Linked DNA regions of Homo sapiens: regions 2, 3, 4 and 5 are each linked to region 1. Evidence: promoter capture Hi-C in human tissues and cell types (Jung and others, 2019). All regions are on one chromosome and are shown on one strand. Each heading gives the region's core, a stretch centred on a gene start or on the middle of the fragment in contact. The rest is flanking DNA. Distances are from core to core; before and after follow the strand shown. Region 1 holds the start of TMEM222 (transmembrane protein 222). Region 2 overlaps FAM76A (family with sequence similarity 76 member A). Region 3 holds the start of FAM76A (family with sequence similarity 76 member A). Region 4 holds the start of NR0B2 (nuclear receptor subfamily 0 group B member 2). Region 5 holds the start of FGR (FGR proto-oncogene, Src family tyrosine kinase).

Region 1 (2,920 bases), core at 291-2,790:
CACCTAATAAATCAGTAAACATCTAGTGGGCATATGCTTTGCACCAGGAACTGTGCCAGCTACTGAAGTCAAGGACCTTAGAGTTCTATAGCAGAGACAGACATCCCCCACAAAAAAACATGAAAATATTAGGTGCTACAAACAGGACAGCAAGCTCTCCATAGATCAGCATTGAGGGAGGGTAATTCAGTGGAAGAAGGACCTTCCCCAAATGGGAAGCTCCTAACTTCCTGAGTGCATTTGTCCATACCTTCCTTTACCTGATTACTCTTTTTATTCTTTTTTTTTTTTCTTTAAGGCTGATTTTTAGTGGCAGCCTTCCTTCTGACTTTGGGCTGTCCCCAACTTCCCCTCCCCACCCCAGTAGACCCCAGTAGACTTCATTTTCTTTGTCTTGACATCCTTTAAAAAGCCAAAAGTCTCCAACATTTGAGCCTGGCTTCTCTCTAATTATGGTTGTGTGTGATCTCAAACAATTAACTTCCCTGAGCCCGTTTTCCCATTTGTACAATGAAGGGATTGGATCACATCTAAGGCTTATGATTTACTCCAGTAAGTATTCACACTCTTGCACACACTGCTCTGCACGGCCTTCCTTTCTTTGTACCGCTGCACTCATACTTCCACTCCTGTGCCACATGGCAAACATCAAGACTCAACTCAATAATATCCTATCTTCCAGCAAGTCTTCCCTGTATATACAATAAAACACACACACACACACACGTGCGCACACACAACTGTGTGTGTCTTCCTTTATGCTACCACTACCTCGTGAGAGGGCCACAGAATGAAAAGGGCAAGGGAGGTATAAGACTTGGGTTTGGGCCAGGCGCGGTGGCTCACGCCTGTAATCCCAGCACTTTGGGAGGCCAAGGCGGGCGGATCACAGGGTCAGGAGTTTGAGACCATCCTGGCTAACATGGTGAAACGCCACCTCTACTAAAAATACAAAAATTAGCCGGGCGTGGTGGCACGCGCCTGTTATCCCAGCTACTCGGGAGGCCGAGGCAGGATCGCCTGAACCTGGGAGGTGGAGGTTGCAGTGAGCCGAGATTGTGCCATTGCCCTCCAGCCTGGGCAACAAGAGAAAAAATTCCGCCTCAGAAAAAAAAAAAAAAAAAAAGACTTGGGTTTGCATCGTGGTCTCTCACCTTTTGAACCTCAGTTTCTCACCTGTAACAGGAGGGAATACCTAATTTGGATGTCTAATTAGTTTATGGGGATTAGAAACAATTCATGTCAAGTGCTTGGCACCTAAGAAGTGCTCAATAAATAGCGACTGTACCACACCTCCTAGGAGCCCTCAGCGTACTGAATTAGAGTTCTCTATAAGTCTCCGGCGCTAGACTGCGAACTGCCTGAGAGCATCCCTTCTGCAGCCGCGGGGCATAAGCGGCAAAGACTCGGGGCTGGCAGGCGCATAGGGAGTGGGGCGGGGCTGGCCGGGCCCAGAGGAACGCGGCTCGGATTCCCGGGGGAAGGCCAAGCGGGGCGGACCCCATCTCCGGGAAGTGACGCCATGGGGACGAGCGGCACCAGAGCCGGGGCCAGTCGGAGCGGGGCGCGCGCCGCATGGCGGAAGCGGAAGGGAGTTCTCTGCTCTTGTTGCCGCCGCCGCCACCCCCGCCCAGGATGGCGGAAGTGGAGGCGCCGACGGCGGCCGAGACGGACATGAAGCAATATCAAGGCTCCGGCGGCGTCGCCATGGATGTGGAACGGAGTCGCTTCCCCTACTGCGTGGTGTGGACGCCCATCCCGGTGCTCACGTGAGTCTCTTCCGGCATCCGCCTGGGGACGAGGAGGGCCCAGGGAGAGCCGGAGTCGGGCCGGGCTAGCCTCCGGCCCCAACGCGCAGCAAGCCTTTTCCTCGGGTCTGGCCCGCACGCCTCGCCCAGTCACCAGAACCCCGCCATCCATGTAGTGCCAGTTTGTGCACACGGCTGGGACACGCTCCCTGCTCTCAATACACCTGGTGTAGCCAGGGAGAGAGTTGTAGGCCAGCAGGAAAGGGCAAGTGGCTGGGAGACTCGAGCTGTGAGTGTGTAGAAGAGGGAGCCCCTTATCGGATCTGAGGAGACATTTTTATTAATTCACTGGTTTATTCTCTCATTGAGCAAATGCTTACTGGTCGCTTACCATATTCCAGACATACTGCTGGGTCTGGGAGCAAGAGTGGGAGTTTGGTTGGGACCACACGAGATCCTGGGATGTCAACATTGGAAGGGCCCCCAGAGATCTGAGAGTCCAACCCTTTGTCTCACGTGCCATCTCAGTTGCAAACTGGGTTTAGATCCCAGGTTGTCTGCCTCCCAGACCAAAGTTCTTTCTGTAACATCAGCCTTTGTCAGGGGAGAAGCAGGTGCTCTGGTACTACTTGGCGCCTTTTGGGAGGAGCTCTCATATGGGGAGAGGTGGTTTGCCCTCCTGCTTCAACCTTGACAGCTGATAAACGTAACCCCTCCTCACCGTGCTGGATAGTTTGCCAAGCTCTTAAACACCCATTTTATCAGAATTAAACATCCATTTTCTAAGGTAGGTTATCTTCTCAGATGGTGAAGCTGAGCTGCTTGTAGCATTAAGTGTCTTGATCAGGTTCGCACCCCAATAAGCAAAGGCATGAAGAGCTCAGTCTTCTGATCTAACTTGCTCTTTGCACTACATCTTATCCACTCTCACCTGATGGGATAGCTTGTTCCGCTATCAATAACAGCCAGTGGTGATGTGGAGAAGGGATCATTTGGGGCCTTAGGTGTTGCTGATTCTAAAAAGATCGTAGTTTTTGAATTATGTTAAAATACTTGAATTATTTTGTGTTTTCAAGTACTTATGCATATAAGAGCATCCAAATCTGTTCTTTAAAAATAAAATATTGGGACAGGCGCGGTGGCTCATGCCTGTAATCCCAGCACTCTGGGAG
Region 2 (2,920 bases), core at 227-2,726, 440 kb after region 1:
TGCACTGATTTTTTTTTTCTTTAGGCCAAAAACCGAGAGCTCCTGAAGCAGGCAGCTGCTTTGTCCAAGAGCAAGAAGTCAGAGAAGTCAGGAGCTATAACCTCTCCATGACAGACCTCAAGGAGGCTCCCTAGCAACAGCAAATGGAGTTGTCCAGGGTTAGGGTTGGAGACCTGGCTGTTCTGTGGGAATTGCAAGCTTTCTTAAGAAATCTCTATTTTATTACAGTTATCCTTCTTTGTGCGATTGCAGTGGGCTGAATGGAAACACCTGGTTTGTGCTGTGTTAGACTGCATGCTTGAGTGTTTGGGATTTCAAGCTCGCTCTCTTTCTCTCACTATTAGGACTTTTCTTTTTCTTCTTCCTCTTCTCTCTATTTTGGTTCTATTCTTTTTTTTTCTTTTTTCTTTTTTTTTTTTTTTTTTTTTTTGTGGTGGTCACTGCTCAGTGTAATGTGCAGAATGATTTGTTTTTTGTTTTTTTTTTTTTTTTTGGTCCTTCATTGCATCCTGCCATACCCATGAGCAAACAGTTTGGCATTAATTATATATCACTGCCACCCTCTGAACTTTGAAAACTGCCATCTTCAGACTTGGTATAATGGAAGAGGCTTTCTCTCTCCAATAAACCTTTTGCTTCAGGGTATACTCTTCGGTTTTTTTCCAGATGTATTATGTATGAACTTTGTACTATGTATAGCCAGAGTTTTATTTATTTTTTAAAAAAGAAACTTTTTCTTGATAAAGGAATAATGGTGGTCTAGCTAGTTCTTGTAAAAGTGATGCCTCTTGAAAAAAAAACAGTCCTATTCACTAGCTTTTAGTAAAAGAATCAGATCTTTTCTTTCTTGTTACCTTGGAGTCTTAAAAACTGATTGCTAAGGTGAAACAATTCAATGCATAAGTATGGAGCTAAGTGCCTTTTGGAGGATTTCTTGGAAGAGCATTTATGGAGATACTTAAGGGAGGTAGCAAAGATTTGAACCGTCTGTCTTTTTAAGTAAGGGCAGAAAGCAAGGTTGTCCAGGTTGTACTGGACACTTCTCTCCCCACCCCTTTCCTGATTGTTTTATGTGATTGATTTTAAATTCTCACACTGCCACTTCTTTAAAAAATAAAATCCTTTATTTGCTTATATCAGTTGTCATACTGGGCTGCTGTCAGAGAATGTTTTTTTACATGAATGAACAGATTAAAAATGGAATAATATGGTCGGGTGCGGTGGCTCACGCCTGTAATACCAGCAATTTGGGAGGCCAAGGCGGGTGGATCATTTGAGGTTAGGAGTTTGAGACCATCCTGGCCAACATGGTAAAACCCCATCTGTACTAAAAAAATACAAAAATTAGCCGGGCCTGGTGGCATGCACCTGTAATCCCAGCTACCCAGGAGGCTGAGGCAGGAGAACTGCTCGAATCCCGGGAGGCAGAGGTTGCAATGAGCTGAAATCGCAACACTGCACTGCAGCCTGGGCAATGGAGTGAGACTCCGTCTCAAAAAAAAAAAAAAAAGGAATAATATTTGAACTACAGAGCATTTTTGGGGTCAGCATGAGCTGCTCTAGTAAGGACTCTTGAGTCTGGGAAAAGTGGTATCACTATACCTTCTCCCCACTCCTCACCCACCCGAGCCCATACACTCCCTGCTTTTCATGGATATGTATTGAAAACAGGTGCTTCTCAGAAGCACTTTGCCTCAACCAGAGTTATGTATGCCCTGCCTATCTTCCCTTCTTAACCCTGTAGGAATATGGATTTACTTTTCCAGGAAAGGGGATAGATTTACATTTCTAGGCATACTCTCAGGTCCTCTATGTGATGTTTGTGAAAGGAATTAGGGTGTGTCATGTGTGCCATGAAACAACAAAACCAACTACCCTAGAATCATTTATGCAGGGGGTACTAGAGTTAGAAATAATAATGAGGGCAGATAACATTTGTACCTCAGTCTACCAAAAAATTATAGTACTAAATTTAACTTCTAGGCGTTTCCTGGAAGCAGATGCTCTATAATTTGTGATAGCATTCTCATAAATGGAGTCCTACACATAATTGGACAGAGATGTGGAAATGGTGGTTTCCTTCTGATAAGGGATACAGTGGACCATGTCGCTTATATATCACCCTACTAGGGGATATAATTTTCCCTTCTAAGCAAGGGAAATGGCAGTGCTAAATAGTTTTGTAAAGTTTTTGAATGAGAAGCTTTTAGGTAAAGATAAACTGTCATAATATTTTTCAGATGCATTTGCATTGACTATGGGAGAAAAATTAGGGGGAAATGACAGTCATGGTGTTTTTTTTTAATTTTAAGGACTGAAATTCTGTTACATGATGTATGACAATATAAAAACATACTTAGTTTTATACTAAATCTTTTTTTAAGGTCTTGGCATTTAATATAAAGCAAATTCACACGTTTTCTAACTTTCCATAAGTTCCAAAAAGGGAAAGAAGAAACCTCAGTCTTGAAATTTTGATTTTTAAAAATCATGACACTGTTTTACCATGAAATTGAGTAGCTAACTTTTGGTAACACCTTTTGTTTCTTTGTATGTTTGTAATAATGGACATTTTAAAACACAGGAATGTTTTGGTTTGTACAGACTTTGACAAATGTGTGTTAATAAAAATTCATATTGACTCAAGTGTAATTGTTGGATTTTGTTTTTATTTCTTGCTGTTTACCAGTAGACATACCCCGTTATCCCCTTCAGCCCTTCAGCCTAGAAAAGTTTGTCTTGCTTATAGACTTAAAAAATTAAAAGCCTAACTGCTAATTGGGAATTTCCTGTCCATTAGAGAATAAACTCTTTCTTTCTCTCTTCTATGACTGTTTTGAGACAGAGTCTCACTCAGTCATCCAGGCTGGAGTACAGTGGCAAGTAGATCACTGCAGCCCCGACTTCCTGGGGATTCTCC
Region 3 (2,920 bases), core at 282-2,781, 400 kb after region 1:
CTTGTTGGTCAGGCTGGTCTGGAACTCCTGACCTCAGGTGATCCTCGGGTGATTCACCCGCCTCGGCCTCCCAAAGTGCTGGGATTACAGGCGTGAGCCACCGCGTCCGGCCGACCCAGGCTGGTCTTAAATCCCAAGGCTCAAGTGATCCTCTGGCCTCAGCCTCCCAAAGTGCTGGGATTACAGTTGTGAGCCATCCCGCCCCGACTCATGTACTGGTTTTGATTCTCACAATGACCTCATTGTACAATTGAGAAAAACGAGGCCGTGAGAAGTTCAGTGATAGATCCAAGGTCATGTAGTTAGTTGTGGAACAGTGATTTGGAAACTTTGCTTTCTGATCCTAATGATTAATGCACATCTTTGGGGGATCCTACAAGGAAGCAGCCAGATTTGGGTTCAGAGAGAGTAAATTTTTTTTGTTGAGGCAGGGAAATAGAAGCCATTAAGTCAGTTTTTAATTGTAAAAAGCGCACGTTGAGGTAAAACTGCAATTAGTCCTGTACGGGTGGTTGGCAGAGCCAAGAGTAACCTATGCCCAAGAGCAGCTACAAGGCAGGACTTGGATAGGTCAGCAGTGCAGGAAGCTTTGCCAACACCTCAAGAACAAGAAGTCTGTCATTCCTTGGGCAGCTCCTATACATGCCAAGCTGGAGCCAAAGAGAGGCAGGGGAGCCCGGAGGGCGTGGCTTGCCTTCCGGAAGTCAGGCCTCGTCAGGAATCACCAGGTGGTTGCTTGCGAGAGAAGCTGGGGGTGAAACCGGAGAAAACAAAGTAGGAAGCAGGTCTGGGCCAATTGCAGCCCACTCTGATGGGGGCCTGCAGGCCACCGGACGCCTGAATATCTGTCCAATCCCTCCTGGAAGGACTGCCATCTCTTTAGTCCCTCTTCCGCAGCATAGGGGTGCTCTCTCTGGGGCTCTCCTTTTCTCTCCTAAGGCCCACAGCCCCACAGTTCCCTATTTAGGTGTCTTAAATTGAGGACACACTTCTAAATTGTCCCTCAGAGTCTCGTCTCCTCCTTTGAGCGAGGCTGGGCGGGCTCCTCCTGCTCCGATTATGAGGAACTTCTTTCCCAAGCTCCCCACCTTCTTTGGGCTTGGACGGCTGCAGAGTTCCAGTTAACTGTGCGCCGCCTTCGTTCCAATTGTACCCCTCGTGCTCCCAGAGGGCAGCTCCATGGAAACCAAAACATCACAAATCCCCGAAGGTATCGCGAGAAGCGCAGATGCGCCTGAGGCCGTGGAGAGGCGGAGCGAGGGCGGGAACGCTGAGCAAGTAGGGCGGAGCCTAAGCTCTTCCGAGGTCCCGGCCGGGAGCCTGTCCCCTCCAGGTGGCGCCCCCGCGTGACTGCGCTTTACATAATCGCGGCCTGGAGCGTCACAGTGGCGTACTCCAGGCCAGACCGAATCAGAGTGGGCGAAAGCTCCGTGTTCCGCCCCTTCCCACTTGATCGACGTCAAAGCCCACCAGTGAGCGGGCGTCTAGAGTCGCCGTGCCCGCCCCAGCCCGCCCGGGTCCGCCCCGACCCGCCTGCGCCCGCCCGCCTGCCGCAGCCAGCAGCCTGCAGCCGCCGCCGGGTTGTGCCTCAGACTGTCAGATAAATCGGCGGGCCGGGCCGGCGGGTCGGTGAGCGCGGCCCGGGCCGGACATGGCGGCGCTCTACGCCTGCACCAAGTGCCACCAGCGCTTCCCCTTCGAGGCGCTGTCTCAGGGGCAGCAGCTGTGCAAGGTGCGCGGGCTGGGGCGGCGGCCGGGAACTGGGGACGCAGGAGGCGCGGCCCGGAGCTCCAGATTCTGTGGGGACGCCCGGCGGGGTCCCCGGAGCAGGGTGTGGCAGGCCCGCCAGGCTGAGGAGCCGCACCCACCCCGCTGGGGGCCGGCGGGGCACGTGCGGGAGCCGGGACCCGGTCCAGGCTCCCGCGGCCGGCGTGTCCGGGTGCTTAGCAACCGTGGGGATTGTTCTCGGACCCCGTGAGGTCGGGGGAGGGACAGCGGGTCCCCTGCTTGCCCTGACTGGTCGCCTTCGGGATCCCTTTGCGCTGCCTCCCCCGCCGCCGCGGTCTCCCTGGTGGGGACCTCCTGCCCCTCCTGGGACTGAACTCCAAAGTTGGGTGCTGCCTTGGAGGAATGTGTCGAACTCGGGCTCCTCACGGGCACTTTTCGACCAGTTTCAGAATCGGAGGTAGCAAGGCTTGATTTTTTTTTTTTTTTTAAGCATCTCACTTTTCGGCCAGTCTCAGAATCGGAGGCAGCAAGGCTTTATGTTTTAAAAAAGCCCCACAGTCAGGCTCACAGATCCGAGGGATCACTTCTCAGCATCCAGTTGGTGGTCTTCGGTCTTCCCTGACTAGCTGCTGATCAGTTTTTGCTCCTGAAGGTCCAACTTCTCTTTTTCTTTTAAGTTGCTTTATCCCACTTTTACTTTTTAAGTGACTAGAGGTGCTGTGAGGCAACAGTTAAAAAGTCACCAAACTGGCTGAAGAATAATGTTGAGGTTATCCAATAATCCAGTTTGTGTCTCTGATTTGGATAACTCATAATTGTCACTTTTGCCTCAGATGGTCATGACTTTCCATTTGCCAGTTTTTATATACCAGGTCTGGGGGAATGCAAGTGCTTGAGTGCCCTTTTTGGCCTCAAAATATGTATATATGATTTTAAGGAAGTTATGTATATATAAATAATAATTTTAATCCAGCACTTTCATTTCACAAGTAAACCGCAAAATCACACAGTGGCAGAAGAACCAGGCCTGGAATTCAGGGCTTCTGATTCCCAGTCTGGGACTTGTTCATATATATGTTTGTTTTACAATTTATGGCTAGTTCCATATAATCCATATAAGTTCTTACTTAACTCCCACATCAACAGTAGGGAAGTGATGCCAGTATTACAGAGGAGAAAAATAAGGCCCAGA
Region 4 (2,920 bases), core at 306-2,805, 410 kb before region 1:
AATAATATTAATAGGACCTGTCTCCTAGGCTTTTATGAGATTTAAATGAACTAGTATATGTAAAACCCTTAGAATAGGGCCTAACATATGGTAAGTGTGATATGAGTATTTGCTACTATTATTACAATTAATTACTACGATTTATGCGTGCCACAAGGGACTCCTGGGGAACTCTCATCTCAGATGCTCTCCAGATTACAAACAGCACTGTCTCCATCTGCCGCTCTCCTGGCCGAATTCCATAAAGACTCCTTTCCTGTCCTCCCTACGCCCCTTTCAGTCATCTCTTCTATGTGATCTTTCTGAACCCACAGAGGAGTTTTAGCTCTAGAGCTTCACCATGCAGCCTTCCTTTGAGGATGTGACTGAGACACAGCTGTGTCTGCCCACCCCACCTCCCCACAGCCTTCTGTAAAGGTCAGAGCAAATTTCTCAGGCAGAGTGGCAAGGGCCAGTCTCTGGAGTGAATAGACCTGAGTTGCCATCCTGGTCTGTCCCTACCTGGCTGTGTTACCTTTAGCTAGTCACTTAGCTTCTCTGTGCCTCTTCTGTGAGATGGCTATTTGATGAAAATGAGGACTGGCCAAGCACGGTGGCTCACGCCTGTAATCCCAGCACTTTGGGAGGCCAAGGTGGGTGGATCACCTGAGGGGTTAGGAGTTCAAGACCAGCTTGATCAACATGGTGAAAGCCCATCTCTACTAAAAAGTACAAAAATTAGCCGGGAGTGGTGGCGGCCATCTGTAATCCCAGCTACTCGGGAGGCTGAGGCAGAGAAAATTGCTTGAACCCAGGAGGCAGAGGTTGCAGTGAGCCAAGATCGCACCACTGCACTCCAGACTGGGTGACAGAGTGAGACTCTGTCTCAGAAAAATAAAAAGAAAATGAGGACCCAATGAGATAACAGATATCAAACCCTTAGAAGCTACCTTCCCTGGCTGGCCCCTGCTTCAGCCTTGCCCCCCACCCAGGAGTGTCTGGGAGCTCACCGGGGTTGAAGAGGATGGTCCCTTTCAGGCAGGCATATTCCTTGGGGCTAAGCTCCAGGCTCCAGAAGGACTCCAGACAGCATTGAAGCCACTGCACCGCAGCCAGGGAGGGCTGGGGTCTGTCTGGCAGTTGGCCACTGCCTCCACTGCTGCTGGGCTCCTCCAGCAGAATCTTCTTGAGTATGCTGGGCACCGGGGCCTCAGCCACCTCAAAGGTCACAGCATCTTGGGCCAACCCAAGCAGGAAGAGGGGGCCCCAGCAACCCTGCAGCAGCCGCCGCTGGTCCTGGGGAGGCAGCTGCCAGAAGGATGGCAGGTTCCTGAGGAAGGCCACTGTCTTGGCCAGAACATCCAAGGCCTCCCGGCAGGTGCGATGAGGTGCACATAGCTGGACGGGCCGGTGCTGCCTACATAGGCAGCGGCTACGGGGTCGGGGGACAGCCTTGAGGCTGGAGCTCAGAAGTGCGTAGAGAATGGCGGGGCGGCTTGCAGCTCCCTGGCATGGGCAGGCCCCTGGTTGGCTGGTGCTCATGGTTAGGGATCTGCTCTCACTTCCAGCTCTCTGGCTCTGTGTTCTGCGCTGTGGGTGCTATTTATATTCCCAGTGAGTGGAACGGGGGGAATGGCCCAACAACCTTGACTCCAGAAGTCATGTTCATTGAAAAAAACACACAGACATTGCCCCTGGCAGGAATGGTGGGGAAGTGGTGGGGGAGGGGGCATTGGGAACCCCACGTGGCACTGATATCACCTCAGTCAATGAAGTGGCCGGTGCAGGGCACAGGGCCACCTGCCGCTCACTCAGCTGCCCCTTATCAGATGACTCAAGTGGATAAACAAGGTCATTAACTCAGGCTGTACCAGGGCACCAAGGCCCCAGGTGCACAATCAGCAGGTGTCCCCATTGGTGCCCGCTCTTGTGTGCACAAAAGACTAGGGCTTTTGCTAAGCCAGGAAGCCAGCCCCAGAGCTGGGTGGGCCTTGAATGCAAGGCCCAACCTGGAAGTGCCTTATCACTAGCTTGTTTGCCTAACCTTGGGGCCCTGCTTCTGTTGTCAGCCAGAAGCAGGCTACAGGGAAGGGAGCCAGGACCCTGGGGGCTGGGAGGACTTTGCCCACTGTCCAATCTAGGAGGCCTCCTCCTCTGATTCCAGTTCTGGGCCCCCTGCAGGAATAAGGTCCTTCAGAATCCTTATCCCCAGCCTGATTCCTACCACTCCTGAAAGGCCAGGTCTGCTGAGAAGAACTCACAGAATTATAATAAAAGATAGTTGCCAGCCGGGCACGGTGGCTCATGCCTGTAATCCCAGCACTTTGGGAGGCTGAGGAAGGGGGATCATTTGAGGTCAGGAGTTCAAGACCAGCCTGGCCAACATGGCAAAATCCCGTCTCTACTAAAAATACAAAAATTAGCCGGGCATGGTGGCATGTGCCTGTAGTCCCAGCTACTCTAGAGGCTAAGGCAAAAGAATCACTCGAAACTGGGAGGCAGAGGTTACAGTGAGCTGAGATCATGCCACTGCTCTCCAGCCTGGGCAACAGAGCAAGATCCTGTCTCAAAAAAATATATATGTATATGTATATGTATATGTATATGTATATGTATATTTATATGTATATGTGTATATATATATACACATACATACATACATATATATATATATATATGTATATATATGGTTGCCATTCTCTAAGCACTTATTATGTGTCAGGCACTTCCCACTCTAATATTGGCAGCCTCTTCCTAAGGCTAGATTCTTACTTTATGAGACTAAAAAAGCTAAAGTGACTTGCCCAAGGTCATCCCACCAGGAAGACAAAGCCCAGATCTTGCCTGACTCCAAAGTCCTTGTTTGTTTCCCTGGACCCACTGGCCCAATTGCACAGCCAGAGCCTGAGATTCTCAGAGCTTGTGGCTAGCTGCCCCCACC
Region 5 (2,920 bases), core at 189-2,688, 310 kb after region 1:
CGGGGGTCTCCCTGTGCTGCCCAGGCTGGCCTCCTCTGCATGTTTTTGAGAAGGTGAAGGGGAGGCTCGCTGAGTCAGGGATAGCCCTTAACCCTTCAGGACACTCAGCAAAAACTGCTTTCTGCACCTGATTCTCGTGGGGGAAGAGTGGACACAAGGATCATTTCTCACCATAGTTCAGATGAGGAAAGTGAGGCCCAGAGAAGCCCTGTAACTTGCCCACAGTCACACAGCAATTAAGGGCCCAGTCTTGCTAAGAACCCAGGTCTCTCAAACAGCAGATCCTCCACCCCAGGATCCCTGAACACAGCGGCATCGCCTCCTACCTCGGTCGGGAAGCCCACCCCCCACCCACCAGACCGAGGATTCCAAAAGGGGGCGAAGGCGGAGAGCAAAGGGGGCTGCGCCCACCCGGAGCCCCGCGGCGGCCCAGCGCGGCCCGCCCTCTCGTTGCCTTGGAGGCAGCCCCTGCGGGCACTCGCGGTCAAAGGCAGGATTTCCGTCGGGGCGGCAGCAATTCCCGGATCCAGCGGGGAGCGCGGGCCGAGACCGCCGCGGGCGCGGAGGGGGCGCCCGGAGAGGCCTGTCCCTGCCGAGGGCGGGGACTTCCCCAGGAAGCGGGGACCCACGCCTCGCGCGCCCGGCAGGAGTCCCCTGCAGCCCGGAACCTACCGCAAGGGCGGGCCGAGAGGGTCGCGGGGCCGCGGTCGCGGCCGCTAACGTTACCCTGCGGGCTGTGGGCTTCACCCCGACTTCGGCCGGCTCGGAAGAGGGGAACTTCCTGGACCCGCAATTGCACCCCAGGTTCTCCGTCCTCCAGAAGTCGTTCTCCTCAACCCCCTTCCCGCCAGCTCCCTCTCCTGTTCCCTCCAGCACCCCCACCCATTTCCCCTCTCCTGGACCCATCAGACCCGTCGGCTTCTCCCCAAAGTCCCACTCTCACGATCCCTTCAGTTTCTCCCCCAGACCGTCCTGGGGATTCCCCTTAATCCTTCTCCCCCACCTCAGCCCCCTTCCTAAACTCTTATCAGTCCCCTCCATTTTACCCACTAGACCTTTTTGGGGGTCCCTTTGGTCGGCTTCCCCCGTGCTCCCCTCCGCCCTCTCCTCCAGGTTTATCAGCCTTGCTTTTCAGGTCGCCCGTTTTCCTCCTTAGGCCTTTTCGGGCTGGGGTCCCTTTGGCTGTCACCTTGCTCATGTGTCCCCCGACCCCCAGGTTCAGGCTTCTCTTCCCGTGTACCCCCAGTCCTCTCTCCAGAGCCTCGAGGGGGAGGGCACTGCTTGACCTGCCCAGTCCCCACCCGACGCTGTCGCTTACCTGGAGCCCAATTCTGCCCGGCCCCGGGGTGAGCCAGCCGGGGCTCCAGCAGCCGCGAGTGCCGGCGTGCGGGGAGAACTGGGGTGCTGCCCGCCTCTGACCGCCGCCCCTGCTGGGCAGGGAGGAGGAAGCCGCCTCGGACTTCTCTTATTGCAGTCACGGCCGGCGGGCGGTGATGGTGGCAGGGAGACAGTCACGCCCTAGCCCCAAGCCAGCTCCCCGCAGCGAGGAGGCGCCCCCAGATCCTAGGCCCACCCGCCCCCACCTTCCTCCTCCCTGGTTTACGGGAGGTCGGCTCTGTCACCCTCCAGACCTGAGTCCCCAGCCCGGCCTTCCCAAAAGCCCCCTCCAAAAGCGCAGTTTCAGCACCCCCGAAGCACCTGCTCTTTTAGGATCATTGAATTGGAGGTTAAGAGGGGCTTTTCTCCATCACTGAGGACCAGATCGGGACTGGCCTTACTCGAGTTCTCACAGCCAGTTGACTTCAGACTGCTGTCACCAGAGCCACTGGACATGGATCACATGGACCCTGTCAGCACGCCTTCCCTTCCTCAGGGGCTGAGCACTGGGGACACAGGGCTGTTAAGGGTGGTGAGCAGCAGAAGACCCTTCCCTTAGGAAACTGCCTTTCAGAGGAGTGGGAAGGGTGTCAGCCTCCCCCAGGCACCCAAGTTTTAGAAAAACTGAGTAACTGGCTGGGGGCAGTGGCTCAGCCTGTAATCCCAGCACTTTGGGAGGTTGGGTGGGAGGATTGCTTGAGCCCAGGAATTCCAGACCAGCCTAGGCAGCATAGGGAGACACCATCTCTACCAAAAAAAATTTTTCTTAAGTTAGCTCGGTGTGGTGGTGTGCACCTGTGGTCCCAGCTACTGCAGAGGCAGAGGTGGAAGGATCCCTCGAGTCAGGCAGGTCGAGGCTGCAGTGAGCTGTGATTGAGCTACTGCACTCTACCTTGGGTGACAGAGCAAGACCCTGCCTTAAAAAAAAAAAACACAAAAAAAGAATGTGGGTTTTGTTGCAGAAAATGACTTTTTTTAAAAAAAAGAAAGAAAAGGCCGGGTGCAGCGGCTCACGCCTGTAATCCCAGCACTTTGGGAGGCCGAGGCGGGTGGATCACGATGTTAGGAGATCAAGACCGTCCTGGCTAACACAGTGAAAGCCCATCTCTACTAAAAATCAAAAAATTAGCCGGGCGTGGTGGCGGGCGCCTGTAGTCTCAGCTACTCAGGAGGCTGAGGCAGGAGAATGGTGTGAACCCGGGAGGCGGAGCTTGCAGTGAGCCGAGATGGCGCCACTGCACTCCAGCCTGGGCGACAGAGCGAGACTCCGTCTCAAGAAAAAAAAAAAAAAAAAAAAAAAGGAAGAAAAACTGAGTATCTTAGAACATGTGGAAAAAGATTTTTAAAAACAAAAAGAGAAACGGTAGCATCCTCTATCAGTTCCAGTCTCTCTGTCTGATAGGGATCCCTGACCCCTCCTCAATCTGGGGTTCAGTCCCCACTCCCACCACTGTTACTTCAGCCTTAAAGCAAGAACCCGGAATATCCCTCCTGTCCAGGAGAGGAAGAGGTGTGGTGGGGAGGGCTGTTTGGTGGAGAAGGA

The links. Contacts are between HindIII fragments. The study calls those that stand out against the background at their distance.
Region 2: a fragment that was not itself captured here is called in contact with the fragment with the promoter of TMEM222 in region 1 in 3 of the 25 tissues and cell types used here (dorsolateral prefrontal cortex, mesendoderm cells and pancreas).
Region 3: a contact is called between the fragment with the promoter of FAM76A here and the fragment with the promoter of TMEM222 in region 1, in 1 of the 25 tissues and cell types used here (IMR-90 fibroblasts).
Region 4: the fragment with the promoter of NR0B2 here is called in contact with the fragment with the promoter of TMEM222 in region 1 in 1 of the 25 tissues and cell types used here (aorta).
Region 5: a contact is called between the fragment with the promoter of FGR here and the fragment with the promoter of TMEM222 in region 1, in 6 of the 25 tissues and cell types used here (IMR-90 fibroblasts, liver, lymphoblastoid cells and 3 more).

What each region holds. Positions count from the first base shown.
Region 1 is chr1:27,320,623-27,323,542 of GRCh38, forward strand. It overlaps TMEM222 (transmembrane protein 222), which reads left to right and starts at 1,541. Exons shown (of 6, transcript NM_032125.3): 1 at 1,541-1,769. The coding sequence starts at 1,576. RefSeq lists enhancers at 955-1,501, 1,502-2,049, 1,549-1,898, 2,050-2,596. The HindIII fragment of the contact is 11,672 bases long and covers 1-2,920 here.
Region 2 is chr1:27,760,471-27,763,390 of GRCh38, forward strand. It overlaps FAM76A (family with sequence similarity 76 member A), which reads left to right. Exons shown (of 9, transcript NM_152660.3): 9 at 25-2,646. The coding sequence ends at 111. Among named protein-coding and RNA genes, the nearest start is that of STX12, 11 kb to the right of the region's middle. The HindIII fragment of the contact is 6,157 bases long and covers 1-2,920 here.
Region 3 is chr1:27,724,430-27,727,349 of GRCh38, forward strand. FAM76A (family with sequence similarity 76 member A) reads left to right here and starts at 1,532. Exons shown (of 9, transcript NM_152660.3): 1 at 1,532-1,732. The coding sequence starts at 1,652. RefSeq lists silencers at 876-1,518, 1,357-2,056. The HindIII fragment of the contact is 12,090 bases long and covers 1-2,920 here.
Region 4 is chr1:26,912,420-26,915,339 of GRCh38, forward strand. It overlaps NR0B2 (nuclear receptor subfamily 0 group B member 2), which reads right to left and starts at 1,556. Exons shown (of 2, transcript NM_021969.3): 1 at 990-1,556. The coding sequence starts at 1,521. It also overlaps a transcript of NUDC not described here. The HindIII fragment of the contact is 33,061 bases long and covers 1-2,920 here.
Region 5 is chr1:27,633,747-27,636,666 of GRCh38, forward strand. FGR (FGR proto-oncogene, Src family tyrosine kinase) reads right to left here and starts at 1,439. Exons shown (of 13, transcript NM_005248.3): 1 at 1,319-1,439. RefSeq lists a silencer at 515-564. The HindIII fragment of the contact is 29,896 bases long and covers 1-2,920 here.